Regions from separate parts of the Homo sapiens genome. Here all the other regions are linked to region 1. The links are contacts of gene promoters, found by promoter capture Hi-C in blood cells and fetal thymus (Javierre and others, 2016). All regions are on one chromosome and are shown on one strand. The core of a region is centred on a gene start or on the middle of the fragment in contact, and the rest is flanking DNA. Distances in the headings are between cores, read along the strand shown.

Region 1 (2,737 bases), core at 1-2,500:
CCATCGGCCTTGGCCAATCGGAGAATGGAATCATCTGACTCACCCTTAAGAAAAAAAAAAAAGCACACTAAGAATATTTCCACTCCGGCTGCCTGAGATGGCAGAAGGTCAGCTGTGCCACCAGCCCACGTCTCTCCCCCGCTGAGCGAATGGAGACAGGCGCAGAAGGGGAGCCACCTCTCCCGGGGCAGCCTGCAGCCTGACTATGGTGGAGCGGGGTCGGGGGGGCACCTCCTAGTGAGAGGCAGAGTCTGCTGCCTGAGTGTCTTCTCAGAGCACCCCTCTTCCACCCTCAAGAAGCGGCAGGCGGCCAGCCCAGTCCAGCTGGCTCAAACTACTCTGCCAGCAGATCTACTCAGGCACCATCACACACTCCAATGCGCACGGTAAAGTCCACGATGTCCCGAAGTGATGAGCAAAGCCCAGGGAAACACTCACCATCCTACGAATGGCCCCGCAGATAGCATAAGTTTTAAACTGGCCATTAAACCTGCCTGTGACCTTGTCAACCTAGAAAGAGAAGAAGGGTCACAAACCACTCCCCCAGGTTTGGGAAACACCAATCCTCAAAGCCAGCCTCTGCCTGTACCTTCACCCCAGGGGCTCCTCCACAATGGGACAGCCTGCCTTTCCCGCACATATATCACAACCTTCCCGCCTCCCGGGCTCCCAGCTCACCTCGGCCACGTTCATCTGGATGGATGCGTGGTCCTTGGCACCGATGATGCGATTGCTAGCGGAGCTGTGGAGAAAGGGCGCAGTGAGCAGAGGGGACTTGGGCGGTAAGAATGAAAGAGGGGACGAGGGAGGTTGGGGGTATATGAATGGAAAAGAGTAACGTCGGGGGCAGGACAAGTTAGGGACGTGACGAGGTAAGGACGGGAGGGGTGTGGGGGAACAAGGGCAGGCGAGGGGACGTGGTGGTTAGGTAAGGACGGAAGAGAGGCATGTGGGGGGCGCTTACCATTTCCGCGGCACGTACAGGTCCACGAACTCGCCGGCGTCGTTCTGCATTTCGAGGCTGGGCTGCGCCTGGGGAGTCACCGCGCGGCGCCGTGAGTACGGCCGGAACCGTGCCCCGGCTCCCGGCGCAAACCGGCCCCTAGGGTCACGGCCCCAGCCGCACCCAGCACCCCGCACCCCGTCCCCCGCGTCCAAGCCCCCACTCCCGCCCCAGCCCCAGCCCTGAGCCCGAAGCCCGCGCCGCGCGCCACACCTGCTGCCACCACACCGCGCGCGAGAGAGAAAGGAAGCAGCTAGTCACCCGGCAGAGATATCGGCGGGCAAGGAGGGGCCTCGGCGAGCGCTTCCGGGTCACGCCACCACAGCGAGTCTGCGCGGTGCGTGCTTGCCGGCCGTCGCCGTGACGCACTTCCGCTTCCGGCAAGGAGGTTCTCGGACCCCAGCCTGCTGGCCCTGGGGCGCGGGGCGTCGTGGGGGTCGTTGTCGTTGAGGGTCGTTGCCGTGTGTGGCGTCTTAGCCTGGCCCCTGGGTTGTGCCCCACGGACGCAGTCGACCCCTCTGAGCGCCTCGGGAGCCCCGAATAGCAGCTGGGAGAAGGGGCGAGGACTGAGCCTCGCTGCCCGCTGCCGGCCGGGCTAGAGATACGGGCGTGCCCCCCATTGTGCGCCTCCCGCCCTCCGGTCCCCTCACCCTGCGGCCACCTGGGGCGTGGGGCGGTGCTCCTGCCCGTGCACGTAGCCGCTGCGAGCGGAGGCCTGCTCACCTGGTGCCTGCTACTCACTCCCCCGGGCCGGTGGGCGAAGGACACCCGCAGGAACTCGGCAGAGGAGAAATTCAGACGGCTCCCGAGGGTAGGAAAAGACCCCGGCCCACCGTGGAATCTGAAACACCCGACCACTCTGCCATCCCATGTTTCACCAGTCAGACCCCCAGGGCAGGGCAGGGGAAGCAGAATGCAAACTGGGGCACCGTTTCCCTGAAGCGTGTTGGCCGCGTTTGTCGTAGTGCTAGAGGTGCATACCCTTGGACCCCGAAAACCCATTCCTGGGAATTTGCTCCAAGGAAGTAAAGATGTTACAAAGATGGACCCACGAAGTATGGTCGTTGGTTATGGGTGGGGTCTTGAGGAAGGCCTTGTTAGTAGCCTGAACCCTGTTGCCAGGAGAAGCTCCAAACCGGTAGACGGAGGGAGCAGCGCGGCCTATGTTGGGGTCTTCTCTGGGCGGGGGACATGATCCTAGGATGTAGAACTAGCCTCAGAAAACTTAAGACTCAGTGGCCAGGTGCGGTGGCTCAGGCCTGTAATCCCAGCGCTTTGGGCGGAGGTGGGTGGATCACCTGAGGTCAGGAGTTCGAGACCCGTCTGGCCAACATGGTGAAACCCCATCTCTACTAAAAATACAAAAAATTAGCTGGGCGTGGTGGCAGGCGCCTGTAGTCCCAGCTACTCGGAAGGCTGAGGCAGGAGAATGGCGTGAACCCGGGAGGCGGAGCTTGTAGTGAGCTGAGATCCCGCCACTGCACTCCAGCCTGGGCGACAGAGCAAGACTGCGTCTCAAAAAAAAAAAGTTTTTTTATGTTTAATTTTTTGGGTACATAGTGGGTGTGTACATTTATGGGGCACATGAGATATTTTCATACCGGCATGCAGTGCGTAGTAATCACATGGGGTATATGGAGCATCCATCACCTCAAGCATTTATCCTTTGCGTTACAAATAATCCAATACTATACTCTTTTAGTCATTTTAAAATGTGCAATTAAATCATTATTG
Region 2 (2,737 bases), core at 75-2,574, 210 kb before region 1:
GTGTGAAATTCATTTAAGTCCATCAAACTCAAACTTGTGCAGGCACCAGGCAGTCACCCTTGATGAAGGCAGCTGGCCAGGCATAAGGGACACAATCCGCAGAGCCAACGAGACCAGAAATGATGCTGGACCACAGAGCGCGTGGACAGTGAGGAGCGGTGAGGCCTGTGCAGAGGGCAGTAGCCAAGCCCAACACAGCTGAGTGCAGCCACGCACAGCCCAGCCACGCCACACCACGCCCAGTCACATCCAGCCCAACACAGCTGAGTGCAGCCATGCCCAGTCCAGCCACGCCACACCACACCCAGCCACACCCAGCCCAACATAGCCATGACCAACCACACCCAACCCAGCCCAGCCTAGCCACGCCCAGCCCAGCTCAGCCGTGTCCAGCCCAGCCACGCCCAACCCAACACAGCCACGCCCAGCCCTTGGAAGCCACACCCCACTCCCCACACCACACCTGAATACAGGCCTAGTGTTACCAGAACTTCTAATTTTCCAACAGAAATGTGCAATTGGGGTCATTATGTTCAGTTTCCCAGTTTTGAATATAGTTTCAACTATCTTGACCAGCTCTACTGAGGATTATTTGACACAATCAACTGCACATGTAAAAGTGATGATTTGGAAAGCTTCGACCTATGTGCACACCCACGAAACCCTTCCCATGGTCCACGGTGAACCTCGTCACCCACAGCATGTCCTCCTGCCTGTGTCCTCCCACCCCTGTCCCCAGGAACCACCGATGTCACTACAGACAACTGCATTTTGCAGAATTCCATATGAACGAAGTCACATGTATACACGCCTTCTTTCACGCAGCATAATTATTTTCACGTTTGATTTTGTCATGTGTTTCAAAATTCCACTCCTTTTTATTTCTGCGTTGTATGGATGCACCATGATTTGTTCATCCAATCACTTGTTGGTAGACATTTTGGTTTTTCCCCCAGGTTTTTGCTATCACAAATAAAACTGCTATGGACAGTCATGCATAAGTCCTTGTGTGAACGCGTTTTCATCCCTCTGGGAAGAATTCCTAGGAGTGGAACGGCTGAGTCTCTGGTAGGGGTGTGTCTAGCTTAAGAACCTGCAGGACAGTTTTACAGAGTGGCCGAACCATCTTCCATCCCCCCCAGCAGTGTACGGCAAACTTTCAACAGCACTGCACAGCCCTAAGACGCACATGCCTGTGGGTGCTGCCCAGCCGTGGCTGCCAGCTTGTCTCTGGTCCAGATCACTTCTTGTTCAACAGATGGGGAGGCCTAGGGAGACCACAGGCCATGCCAAAGGTCATGCAGCAGCTGTCAGCTGAGCAAGGCTGGCAGTGGCCCAGGCTGGTCATGCCCCCTCCATGCTGGCAACTGTCTCCACCAAGGCACACTCTGGTGGAAGCTGGAGGCAGGGGACACTACTCTAAGTGGAGTCATCTGAGAGATGCACCGACCACACCTCTTCTGTGTTTCTATCCCCGAGCTCCCAGGGGCCAGGACCACCTGCCCAGGGAGTGCTCATTGTGCCAAGAAGAACATGACCCAGCACAGGGTCACTGCAGGTCCCTAAGCAGAAGGGCTGGCCCGGGCAGGACCCCAAAGGCTCGGTAGCAAGGTGCTCCTCCCGAAAGCTGTGATTCCCGGAGTGATCCGGGCTCCGGGGTGGGACCTCCTGGTGCAGGGTCCTGAGCTTCGCCTATGCCAGGCTTTGGAAGCATCCTCTGAGGGCCCCTTCGGAAGGAGCATTGGGATGAATTAAACAGCAAGGCAGGGCTCGCCTAGTGCATGCTCTGCTGACAAATGCGGTCATTTTTCTCGATTCTGGGAAAGAAGGGATACGGACTTGTTTCGTCTTGCCATGTCTAGAACTCCTCTCGGAGTCTCCAGTTAGTAGGGAGAAGGGAGTGCCGTGGTCTCTGGGTCCTGCTGGCACGTGGAACCCAGTTCTGCAGGGTCTCACACCTGTCCTCTTCTTGTCACCCTCTCTGTCTTTCTCAGCAACTTTTCAGAAGCTTCAGAAGAAGGACGCCGGAGAATGCCCGCCCGGGACTCCGAGGTGCCCTGTGCTCATGGATTGGTCCTCCTGGCTCCATGAGTGTGAGTGAGTGTCTGCAGGTCCCTGGCACAAAAGCTGCAGTGCTGAGCAGGTGGCTAATGGCCCTGGCTGGGTGATTTTGGACAAGTCACCTTTGCCTCTCTGGCCTCCATTGTCCCTCTGTCAAACAGGCCCCACGACAGCAAGCGTTGGTTATTGTGTCTATGGTCAACATCCCACCTGCCTTTCTGGGCAGAGACGTTTGGGAGCAGTGGCTGTATCCCTGAGCACGTCGTAAGGGCACTTTCCTGCATGCCCTGGCTGGAGGGACCTGTTGCTGGGAAAACTCCCCAGAGTGTGAACCGGCGGCGGCTCCACCATCTGGGTGCCGTGGGCATGGTGCATGGCGGGAAGGAGGCCGGCACCACAGAAGGGTGGCAGCTGTCCCCGGAAGGCTCTCCCCTGAGGGCGCCCAGGGCTCCACCGCTAGCCAGCCATCTCCTTGCAGTAAGGCACGTTTCCTCCAGATCCTCTCGGAACTGCCGGGAGTGGCTGCCCCACCCGCCCAGCTCTCCCTGGGTCCTGCCAGGCAGGGAAGCGTGAACCGAGACGGGCTCGGGATGGCTCTCAGGCCCTCCCTGCTCTCAGCACCAAGGGAGGCACCCAGAGACTGATCTGTGGGGGCAACGGAGACTCCGGGTCCCCC
Region 3 (2,737 bases), core at 84-2,583, 220 kb after region 1:
TGCTGGGAGTACGTCTGCTGCTGCGCGGCACCCTGCTGGTACCCGGCCTGCTGCTGGCTGTACTGGGAGTTTCCTGGAGGGAGGAGGAGACACAGAAATGACTTTCCCCACCTGGGCTAAGGGGGCTCATTCTGTGGCCCACTCACGACACGGTAACTTTGGAATCCCAAAACCAAATCCATTGCTTCGGCATGTTTATTTTTTCACAACCATTCAAATACTATACTACACCTTTATCTTATAGAAATACAAATGGAAAGCTAAGAAACGAAATGGTTAATATGACAACTAAGACAGAGATGAACGCCAGCGTCGCGGGTCAAATGTGCTCCCCAGAGAGATGCTGATGTCCTAACTCCAAGTACCTGTGAATGGAACCTTATTTGGACATAGGGTCTTTGCAGATATAATTTTTTTTTTTTTTTTCAGAGACAGGGCCTCGCTCTGGGACCCAGGCTGGAGTGCAGTGGTGCAATGAGGGCACACTGCAGCCTCCATCTCCCTGGCTCAAGTGTTCCTCTCACTTCAGCCTCCCAAGTAGCTAGGACTACAGTGTGTGCCAGCGTGCCCAGATAATTTTTTTTTTTTTTTGAGATGGAGTTTCGCTCTGTTGCCCAGGCTGGAGTGCAGTGGCGAGATCTCAGCTCAGTGCAAGCTCCGCCCCACCCGGGTTCACGCCATTCTCCTGCCTCAGCCTCCCGAGTAGCTGGGACTACAGGTGCCCGCCACAACGCCAGGCTAATTTTTTGTATTTTTAGTAGAGATGAAGTTTCACCATGTTAGCCAGGATGGTCTCGATCTCCTGACCTTGTGATCCGTTCACCTTGGCCTCCTAAAGTGCTAGGATTACAGGCGTGAGCCACGGTGCCCGACCATGCCCAGGTAATTTTAAATCTTTTGTAGAGACAGGGTCTCTCTATGTTGCCCAGGCTGGTCTCGAACTCTTGGCCTCAAGCAATCCTGCTGCCCCTGCCTTCCAAAGTGCTGGGATTACAGGCGTAAGCCACCATGCTCTGCGCAAAGAATCCATTTTCTACTTTACTTTTCTGGTTGGAAATAACTTTCCTTTTTTAGAAGCTGTAAAATTTAAGTATTTTAAAACTGCAATCTAGTATTTTTTTTAAATAACAGCTTTATTGAGATAATGCACACTGGAATGGCTTAAAAACCTATCAGGGTAATTCAATCTGTAGTTAGGTGGGATGACAAAACTAACACACGCTCTTATTCCAGGCTGAACTCCTCCTAAGGCGAGAGCTTCGGAAAAACTTACTTGAGCCTTTCCAGTTATTCTCTATCCAGGAAGTATCTTGAGTCTTGAACTTCCACGCCTTCCTCTAAATCCAGGGCCGGTTCCAGCAACAGCTGGCAAACGAGCTGTCACCGTCACGGGAGAAGACTTAAGGTCACTATCCTTTCTCCTGCCCCCATGAAAGCCATCTGAGACATGGGGGAGTGGGTTTTCAAGGGTGTCAGGCTTTTGGGGGTCAGCCTGCATATTCTCATGTTTTATAGCCCACTTTATTCTTTACATAATAAAGGAGCCAGTTTGTGGCCGGGTGCGGTGGCTCACGCCTGTAATCCCAGCACTTTGGGAGGCCGAGGCGGGTGGATCACAAGGTCAGGAGATCGAGATCATCCTGGCTAACATGGTGAAACCCCGTCTCTACTAAAAATACAAAAAATTTAGCCCGGCATGGTGGCGGGAGCCTGTAGTCCCAGCTACTCGGGAGGCTGAGGCAGGAGAATGGTGTGAACCCAGGAGGAGGAGGTTGCAGTGAGCCGAGATCGCATCACTGCACTCCAGCCTGGGCGATAGAGTGAGACTCCATCTCAAAAAAACATAAACAAAAAAAAAAAATAAAGGAGCCAGTTTGTAGGAAACGGGCCAGCTTTGCCCTGGCACCCAGCAGGTATGCAACAACTGTGAGAGTGCCAGCTCAGAACACCCAGCCCCAGCACACAGGGACCAGGCCTGGCTCTCACACCCCAGTGGGTGCTCAGGCGATCTAGTGGGAACTGGCAGCAGCCGCCCTATCCCCAAAGAAAGGGGGCTGCTGAGATAACTGCAGGGAAAGGGGGCACGACATCTGTGGAAAAGGCCTTTGCCGTTTTCAGATGTGTTGCATGAAATCTGCAGGGCTCGGGGGAGCCCAGGCCGTGCTCTCAACAGGACAGCAACGGGGCGGGCAGATGTGGGGCCTTCCTCCACAACCAGCAAGTACTCCAGGGTTCTTTCTTTTCTTTTCGAGATGGAGTCTCGCTCTGTCACCCAGGCTGGAGTGCAGTGGCACAATCTCGGCTCACTGCAAGCTCTGCCTCCGGGGTTCACGCCATTCTCCTGCCTCGGCCTCCTGAGTAGCTGGGACAACAGGCGCCCGCCACCACGCCCAGCTAATTTTTTTCTATTTTTAGTAGAGACGGGGTTTCACCGTGTTAGCCACGATGGTCTCGATCTCCTGACCTCGTGATCCGCCTGCCCCGGCCTCCCAAAGTGCTGAGATTACAGGCGTGAGCCACCGTGCCCAGCTCTTTTCTTTCTCTAAGAATCCTCTGGCATTCTGCGGGGTGCCCGTGAGAAGGTGCCGGGCAGCATGGCGCATCTGTGTGTGAAACAAGAGGCCACGGCACACCCTCTGCTTCCTCAGAAGGAGCAAGATGTGGACACAATGAGCCACGAGGAACATGTGAACGACGCTCAAAGCCGTGTCACATAAAAACACAGTGATCCACACGA
Region 4 (2,737 bases), core at 110-2,609, 200 kb after region 1:
GATGTGTACAGAAGGGGCCCCAGTGGACGGCTGAAAACTCAACACGGGGCCAGAGCGGGAGCACAACGAGGGGACACCGCCTGCCTCCTCCCTCGCAGTGCCTCGGACGCCTCCCTCTCCCCAGCCTCACTCCTCTGAAAAGGTGCCACCTCCTTTGGGGGGGTCACTATCTCTGTGGGGTCCTTGGCCATTCTGCTTTAATTCTGAGGCAATCACAGTTACAGAAAAGCTGGAAGAAGAGTACAAAGAACTTCCTCCTGAATCACTTAAGAGTCAGTCGCCGACTGGACTTCCCTGCACCCAGAACAGTCCATGTGTGTTTCCTAGAGAAAATGGTGTCCCCTCCAGAACCAGGGTGTCATTGAGACTGGCCATGACCGACAGCCCCTCCCACGTGGGCCCCGGTCTCAGCAGTGCCTCTCCCTGTAGGAAAGTCTGCGTCCCTATCCCGGCTGCCTGCAGCTGCCACACCTTGTCCAGCTCCTTGGGCTGGAAGGTTCCTCAGCCTCTCCTGACTCCCGAGCCAGCCCTGACACGTGGGAGGCAGCAGGCCAGCTGTGCACAGGACGTCCTCATTCCCAATTCAGCACTCTGGGGTCATTCTAATTTTCTCTTGTGGTCTTGGTAACTCCATTCTCCGCCTATAAGAAACCGGGCCTCCATGCACTTTAAGATATTTATGGAGCTGCTCAACCCCTACCTGCTGTGACCCGCCCTCAGCTCCACCTCCCCGCCTGCTCCCAGAGCTCCCCATTCTTTAGCGGGTCTCTGTTCTCCGACTGGCTGAGTTCCCGTGCCGGGCCACCTCTCCATGGGACACCCTCCCCTTGATACCCTTCCTGTAAATATATTTTACAGGACAGCTGATTTTGAGATGGTTTTAGATTTGTGGACAAGGTGCAAAGGCATCCCTGCGGACTTCCTCCCCAGTGCCCCCGCAGCCGTGCCTGTGCGGCCGCCGCCGCTGCACCGCTACTAACTGAGCTCCAGGTGGGGCTTGGGGCTCAGCAGTTTCCCAAGAGCGTCCTTCTTCTGGTCCAGGATCTAGGCCAGGATCCACCCTGCTTTTAACCATTATGTAGGGATATTTTTAAGTGTTGTCAGAAAAGAGGCACCGAGGTATTCTATACGCAGGGAAAATATCTTTCAGAAACGAAGGTGCAATAAAGATTCTAGATGGCAGAAAACGAACATAGTTTGTCACTAATACAGCTGCTGTATAAGGAATGCTCAAGAAAGTTCCTCGGGTTGAAGGAAAATGATACCAGAGGGAAGCCTGGATCTTGAGGAGGGAAGGGAGAGCAACAGAATTGGTAAATATAAAATACTATTGTTTTCCTCTTAGGAGTTCTTAAATATGTAAGACTGTAGACAAAAAAATACTGCGTAGTTGGCTTCCAACGCGCACAGAAGTAATCCACATGAAAGGCAACAGAAAGGTCAGGAGGGGATTCGAGGGACCCAGATGACTGCAAGGTCCCCACGTTTCTGTGAGGGGCACAGTATGAACTCTGAGCAGACAGTGAAGGCTAACAGGTGTGCAGACTGGAACCTCCAGAGCAATGACTAAGACACAACACAAAGACACAGATCCGAAAAGCCAACAGATAAATGAAATGCTCAGAACTAGCCCAACAATTCCAAAGAAAAAGAACAAACAAACAAAAAACAGAGGGGACAAATAGGAAACAAATAATAAAAGTGCACCTAAATCTAACCATATAAATAATTTCATTAAATGTTAATGTTGGCTGGGCGCGGTGGCTCATGCCTGTAATCCCAGCACTTTGGGAGGCTGAAGCGGGCGGACCACGAGGTCAGGAGTTTGAGACCAGCCTGACCAACGTGGTGAAACCCCGTCTCTACTAAAAATACAAAAATTAGCTGGGCATGGTGGCGTGTGCCTGTAATCCCAGCTACTCAGGAGGCTGAGGCAGGAGAATTGCTTGAACGGGGAGGCGGAGGTTGCAGTGAGCCGAGATTGCATCATTGCACTCCAGCCTGGAAGACAGAGCGAGACTCCATCTCAAAAAAAAAAAAAAAAAAAGTTAATGTTTACAAATTCTAATTAAAAGGCAGAGGTTGACAAAGTGGATTAAAAAGAGCTAGCTGGGCACAGCAGTTCCTGGCTGTAATCCCAGCACTGTAGGAGGCCAAGGCGGGAAGATCTCTTGAAGCCATGAGTTCGAGACCAGCCTCGGCAAAATAGCAAGACTCCTGTCTCTACCAAAGGAATTAGCTGGGCATGGTGGCGCACCCCTATAGTCCCAGCTACTTTGGAGGCTGAGGTGGGAGAATCACTTGAGCCCATGAATTCAAAGCTGCTATGAGCTATGAATATGCCACCGCACTCCAGCCTGAGCAATAGAATGAGAGAAAGAGACACTTTTTTTTCTTTTTTTTTTTTGAGACAGAGTCTCACTCTGTCACCCAAGCTGGAGCACAGTGACATAATCACAGCTCATTACAGCCTTGACTTCCTGTACTTAAGAGATCCTCCTGCCTCAGCCTCCTGAGTAGCTGGGGCTACAGGTAAGTGCCACTGTGCCTAATTTTTAAATTTTTTTTGCAGAGACAGGGTCTCCCAGTTACCCAGGCTGGTCTCAAGCGATCCTTCTGTCTTGGCCTCCCAAAGTGCTGAGATTACAAGCATGAGCCACCACACCTGGCCTGAGACCCTGTCTAAAAATAGAAAAATAAAAACAGTAAAGACATAAAATCTGAACAATACTATCAA
Region 5 (2,737 bases), core at 171-2,670, 140 kb after region 1:
ACCCTGACTCGGGAAGGCCCTGTGCTACGCGTGCCAGCCAGGCAAACTTGCCAGGTGCACATGAGGACTCTGCATCAGTCCAGAATTCACGCAGGAAGTTTCTACACTGAGAAAGGCAGGTGAACCTCTCCCACTGTGCAGACAGCAGCACCCCCACTGTTTACCATTCTCCATGCCAAGAGGGTGACCTTGAGAGGCAGGCAAAGGTGAGCCCGGCTTGGTCCCAAGAAGCAGCTGTGGGGAGTGGCAAACCTTCCCACTGGGCCTCGCGGCCAGTGTGGCCCGACGTCCCGGAAGCGGAGCCTAGCGCCCCACTCACCACAGTCAACTCCCTCAAGTCTTGTCGCTGACTTAACTGCTTCCTGTGGAATATTAATTGCCAAAAATACACCACGCACCTCGAGGAACATTACCTTGTAATGCAGTACGATGTATTTCCAAACACACAAGATGAATGCAAGCGCTTCCGTACAAAAACATGTGTTTTAATCAACCTTCTCCTTATGCAACACAATAAAAAGCTGTTCCAATGCGGCCCACGAGACTGGGTGGGAAGGCAATGGACAGGGCGCATGCCCCACAGCTCACGGGCGCCCTGCTCTCAGAAAGCCATGCCGGAGGGCAGGGAGAGCACTCCAAGGGCAGCAGCAGTCCAGCCAGCCCCCGACCCGCCGCCGCTGTGTATCTCTGATGATCAAAACCAACGGCCCCGAGAGGAGCCCAGCCTGCGGCTGCAGCTAGAGGAGAAGGAGACACCTTGTACCCACATCTCACAACCCAGCAAGGGCCACAGCAGGCGGAGGACGCGGTGAGGGAGTGGGAGGAAAATTAAGACAGCAAAGGGAAGTGAGTGACCCAGGTGAGAGGCTGTTGTCCTGCAGGGCTCCCGGCCTTCCCCAGGGCACCTGCCCAGCCAAGGAGTGGCTGGCTTGCTGGAGTGCGTCCTTGCCCTCTGGCCGCCTCCTTCTCTGTGGCCTCAGCTCCAGGCCCTCCTCACCATCGTGCCCATCTTCATCCTGTGCAGCCCTAATGGGGTCCACTGTGCTGAGAAACCTGTCACCCTAACATCAGACCTGCCCACGTGGCTGCCAACTGTGCTTCCTGAGCACCTACAGGCAGGGCTTCAAACCAAGGTCAGGGAAAACCACCAATCTCTAACCCCCCTACCCTCTGCAAAAAAAATTTTTTTTTAATTAAAAAATTTAAAAAAACAGGAAAAAAAATTTTTCGTTCATTTTTTTCCCCAGAATAATGACCCACATTATTCATATTCATGAAGTTCTCAAAGGGGTCCTTGATCTAAAAAAGGGTCCTGACCCCACCGTGGGCCTCCAGCACTTGGACTCCCCGCTGAGGACCCACCCCAGACCCTCCCGAGCTTGTTAAACACATCTCTTCCTGGGCCCCTCCCGGGAAACCCAGGCTCAGTGAAGCTGGGGCTGGGCCTTGAACCCACACTTTTTAAAAAGTTCCCCCAGCTTTTCTGATGAGAAGCAGGGGTGAAAACTCCATGATGTTAACCCAGGAGCCTTCTACCCTGACAGCCGAGCCACTGAAGAGGCGGAGCTGCCGGGCAGGCGCTGCGGGGCAGGCGCTGCGGGGCAGGGGCTGCGGGGCAGGCGCTAGGGCTCCTCGGGCACCTCTGCACTGGGACCCCTCCCCTGGCCCCAGCTCAGGCACTGCCCTGGCTCTGCTTCCGCTCAGGTGTTCCAGCATTTCCCACAGGTGAGACTTACTTGGAAGACGGGTGATGATTACAGCGAGACTCCCAGCTCTGCTACATCATCAAGAGAGGCCAAGCCAGAGCCAGGGCACTCGCAGGAGCTCGCCACCACAGACGCAGCCCGTGTCCTCTTTCACAGTAAGAGGGTAGCCCCACGCCCTGTGCGCACCTGACACCTGCCGTCATTATCGGAGTCACCGAAATGTCACTGAATCACAGTCCCCCTAGTTTTAAGGCAATAATGGAAGTTGCTCTCTGGCCGAGCACAGTGGCACAAGGTCCCAGGTTACAGGGGGCTCTTTCTCACGATCAGCCTTGGATCAGCCTTAGGTTTATTCAGTACAAAGCACAGGCACTCACTTCCACACCATAGTCCTCCTTCCTCTACAGCTGCCTCCGTCTTTTCTGGAACCAAAACTCCACACAACTCCCTACACACTACAGTCCTCCCTGCCTGGTGCTCCTCCAAGAACTCCCCGTATGAGCCCACAACAGGCGCTCTCTGGGCACCCCTGAAGGTTGCAGTCCCAGCGCCTTTGATAAAGAAATGTGCTCAGTGTCTGCTCAGCCAAGAGCCCCTCAGACCCTTCCCACCCCTGACTTGCCTCAGCGTCGGGGCCACAGCCCCCAGGCCCTCAGTGCGCAGGTGAGAAGTACACACCTTACACCCAGGAGAGAGGCCTGATGACCGCCACAAGCCCTGAGGGTGCGGGAACCTCTTCAGGCCCCAAACTATGGAGCCAGCCACTAGCTCAACAGGACTGATCCCAGAGTTTGTTTCTCAAAATACATCAAGCGAGTGTTCCACTGAAAACAGAAGGCAAGCAAAGAGAAACAGCCACAAACATCAGGCACGAGTCTCAGATCCAGTCCCTTATAAAAGCTCACTTCCACCACTCAGCTCAACTCAGAGGTCACAGGATTTGCATCAGCAGAAGCTCCAGCGGAAAGAATGTGGATGCTGTGACATTCTGCTGAATGATCCCAAGTTCTTTTCTGAATCTGGAAGGAAAA

The links. Contacts are between HindIII fragments. The CHiCAGO score rates a contact against its expected background, and 5 or more counts as called.
Region 2: a fragment that was not itself captured here is called in contact with the fragment with the promoter of RPS21 in region 1 in 3 of 17 cell types (endothelial precursors, M1 macrophages and M2 macrophages); the score reaches 6.9 in endothelial precursors.
Region 3: a contact is called between a fragment that was not itself captured here and the fragment with the promoter of RPS21 in region 1, in 1 of 17 cell types (endothelial precursors). The highest score is 5.3, in endothelial precursors.
Region 4: a contact is called between a fragment that was not itself captured here and the fragment with the promoter of RPS21 in region 1, in 1 of 17 cell types (endothelial precursors). The highest score is 5.2, in endothelial precursors.
Region 5: a fragment that was not itself captured here is called in contact with the fragment with the promoter of RPS21 in region 1 in 8 of 17 cell types (erythroblasts, endothelial precursors, megakaryocytes and 5 more); the score reaches 7.0 in erythroblasts.

The regions. Positions count from the first base shown.
Region 1 is chr20:62,385,616-62,388,352 of GRCh38, reverse strand. RPS21 (ribosomal protein S21) reads right to left here and starts at 1,250. Exons shown (of 6, transcript NM_001024.4): 1 at 1,217-1,250; 2 at 965-1,032; 3 at 679-742; 4 at 439-510; 5 at 1-44. The coding sequence starts at 1,014. It overlaps RPS21-DT (RPS21 divergent transcript), which reads left to right and starts at 1,364. Exons shown (of 1, transcript NR_186459.1): 1 at 1,364-2,050. RefSeq lists enhancers at 401-1,092, 1,093-1,784, 2,063-2,112 and silencers at 973-1,162, 1,593-1,712. The HindIII fragment of the contact is 6,470 bases long and covers 1-2,737 here.
Region 2 is chr20:62,596,476-62,599,212 of GRCh38, reverse strand. LINC02970 (long intergenic non-protein coding RNA 2970) reads left to right here. Exons shown (of 2, transcript NR_184037.1): 2 at 1,995-2,737. Among named protein-coding and RNA genes, the nearest start is that of LINC02970, 5.6 kb to the left of the region's middle. The HindIII fragment of the contact is 1,373 bases long and covers 638-2,010 here.
Region 3 is chr20:62,170,018-62,172,754 of GRCh38, reverse strand. It overlaps SS18L1 (SS18L1 subunit of BAF chromatin remodeling complex), which reads right to left. Exons shown (of 11, transcript NM_198935.3): 9 at 1-73. Among named protein-coding and RNA genes, the nearest start is that of MTG2, 12 kb to the left of the region's middle. The HindIII fragment of the contact is 6,452 bases long and covers 1-2,737 here.
Region 4 is chr20:62,188,975-62,191,711 of GRCh38, reverse strand. The region is part of intron 1 of MTG2 (mitochondrial ribosome associated GTPase 2); the gene reads right to left. Among named protein-coding and RNA genes, the nearest start is that of MTG2, 7.3 kb to the right of the region's middle. The HindIII fragment of the contact is 4,226 bases long and covers 1-2,737 here.
Region 5 is chr20:62,242,309-62,245,045 of GRCh38, reverse strand. All of the region lies in intron 1 of OSBPL2 (oxysterol binding protein like 2), which reads right to left. Among named protein-coding and RNA genes, the nearest start is that of OSBPL2, 5.2 kb to the right of the region's middle. RefSeq lists enhancers at 37-644, 645-1,253. The HindIII fragment of the contact is 4,482 bases long and covers 1-2,737 here.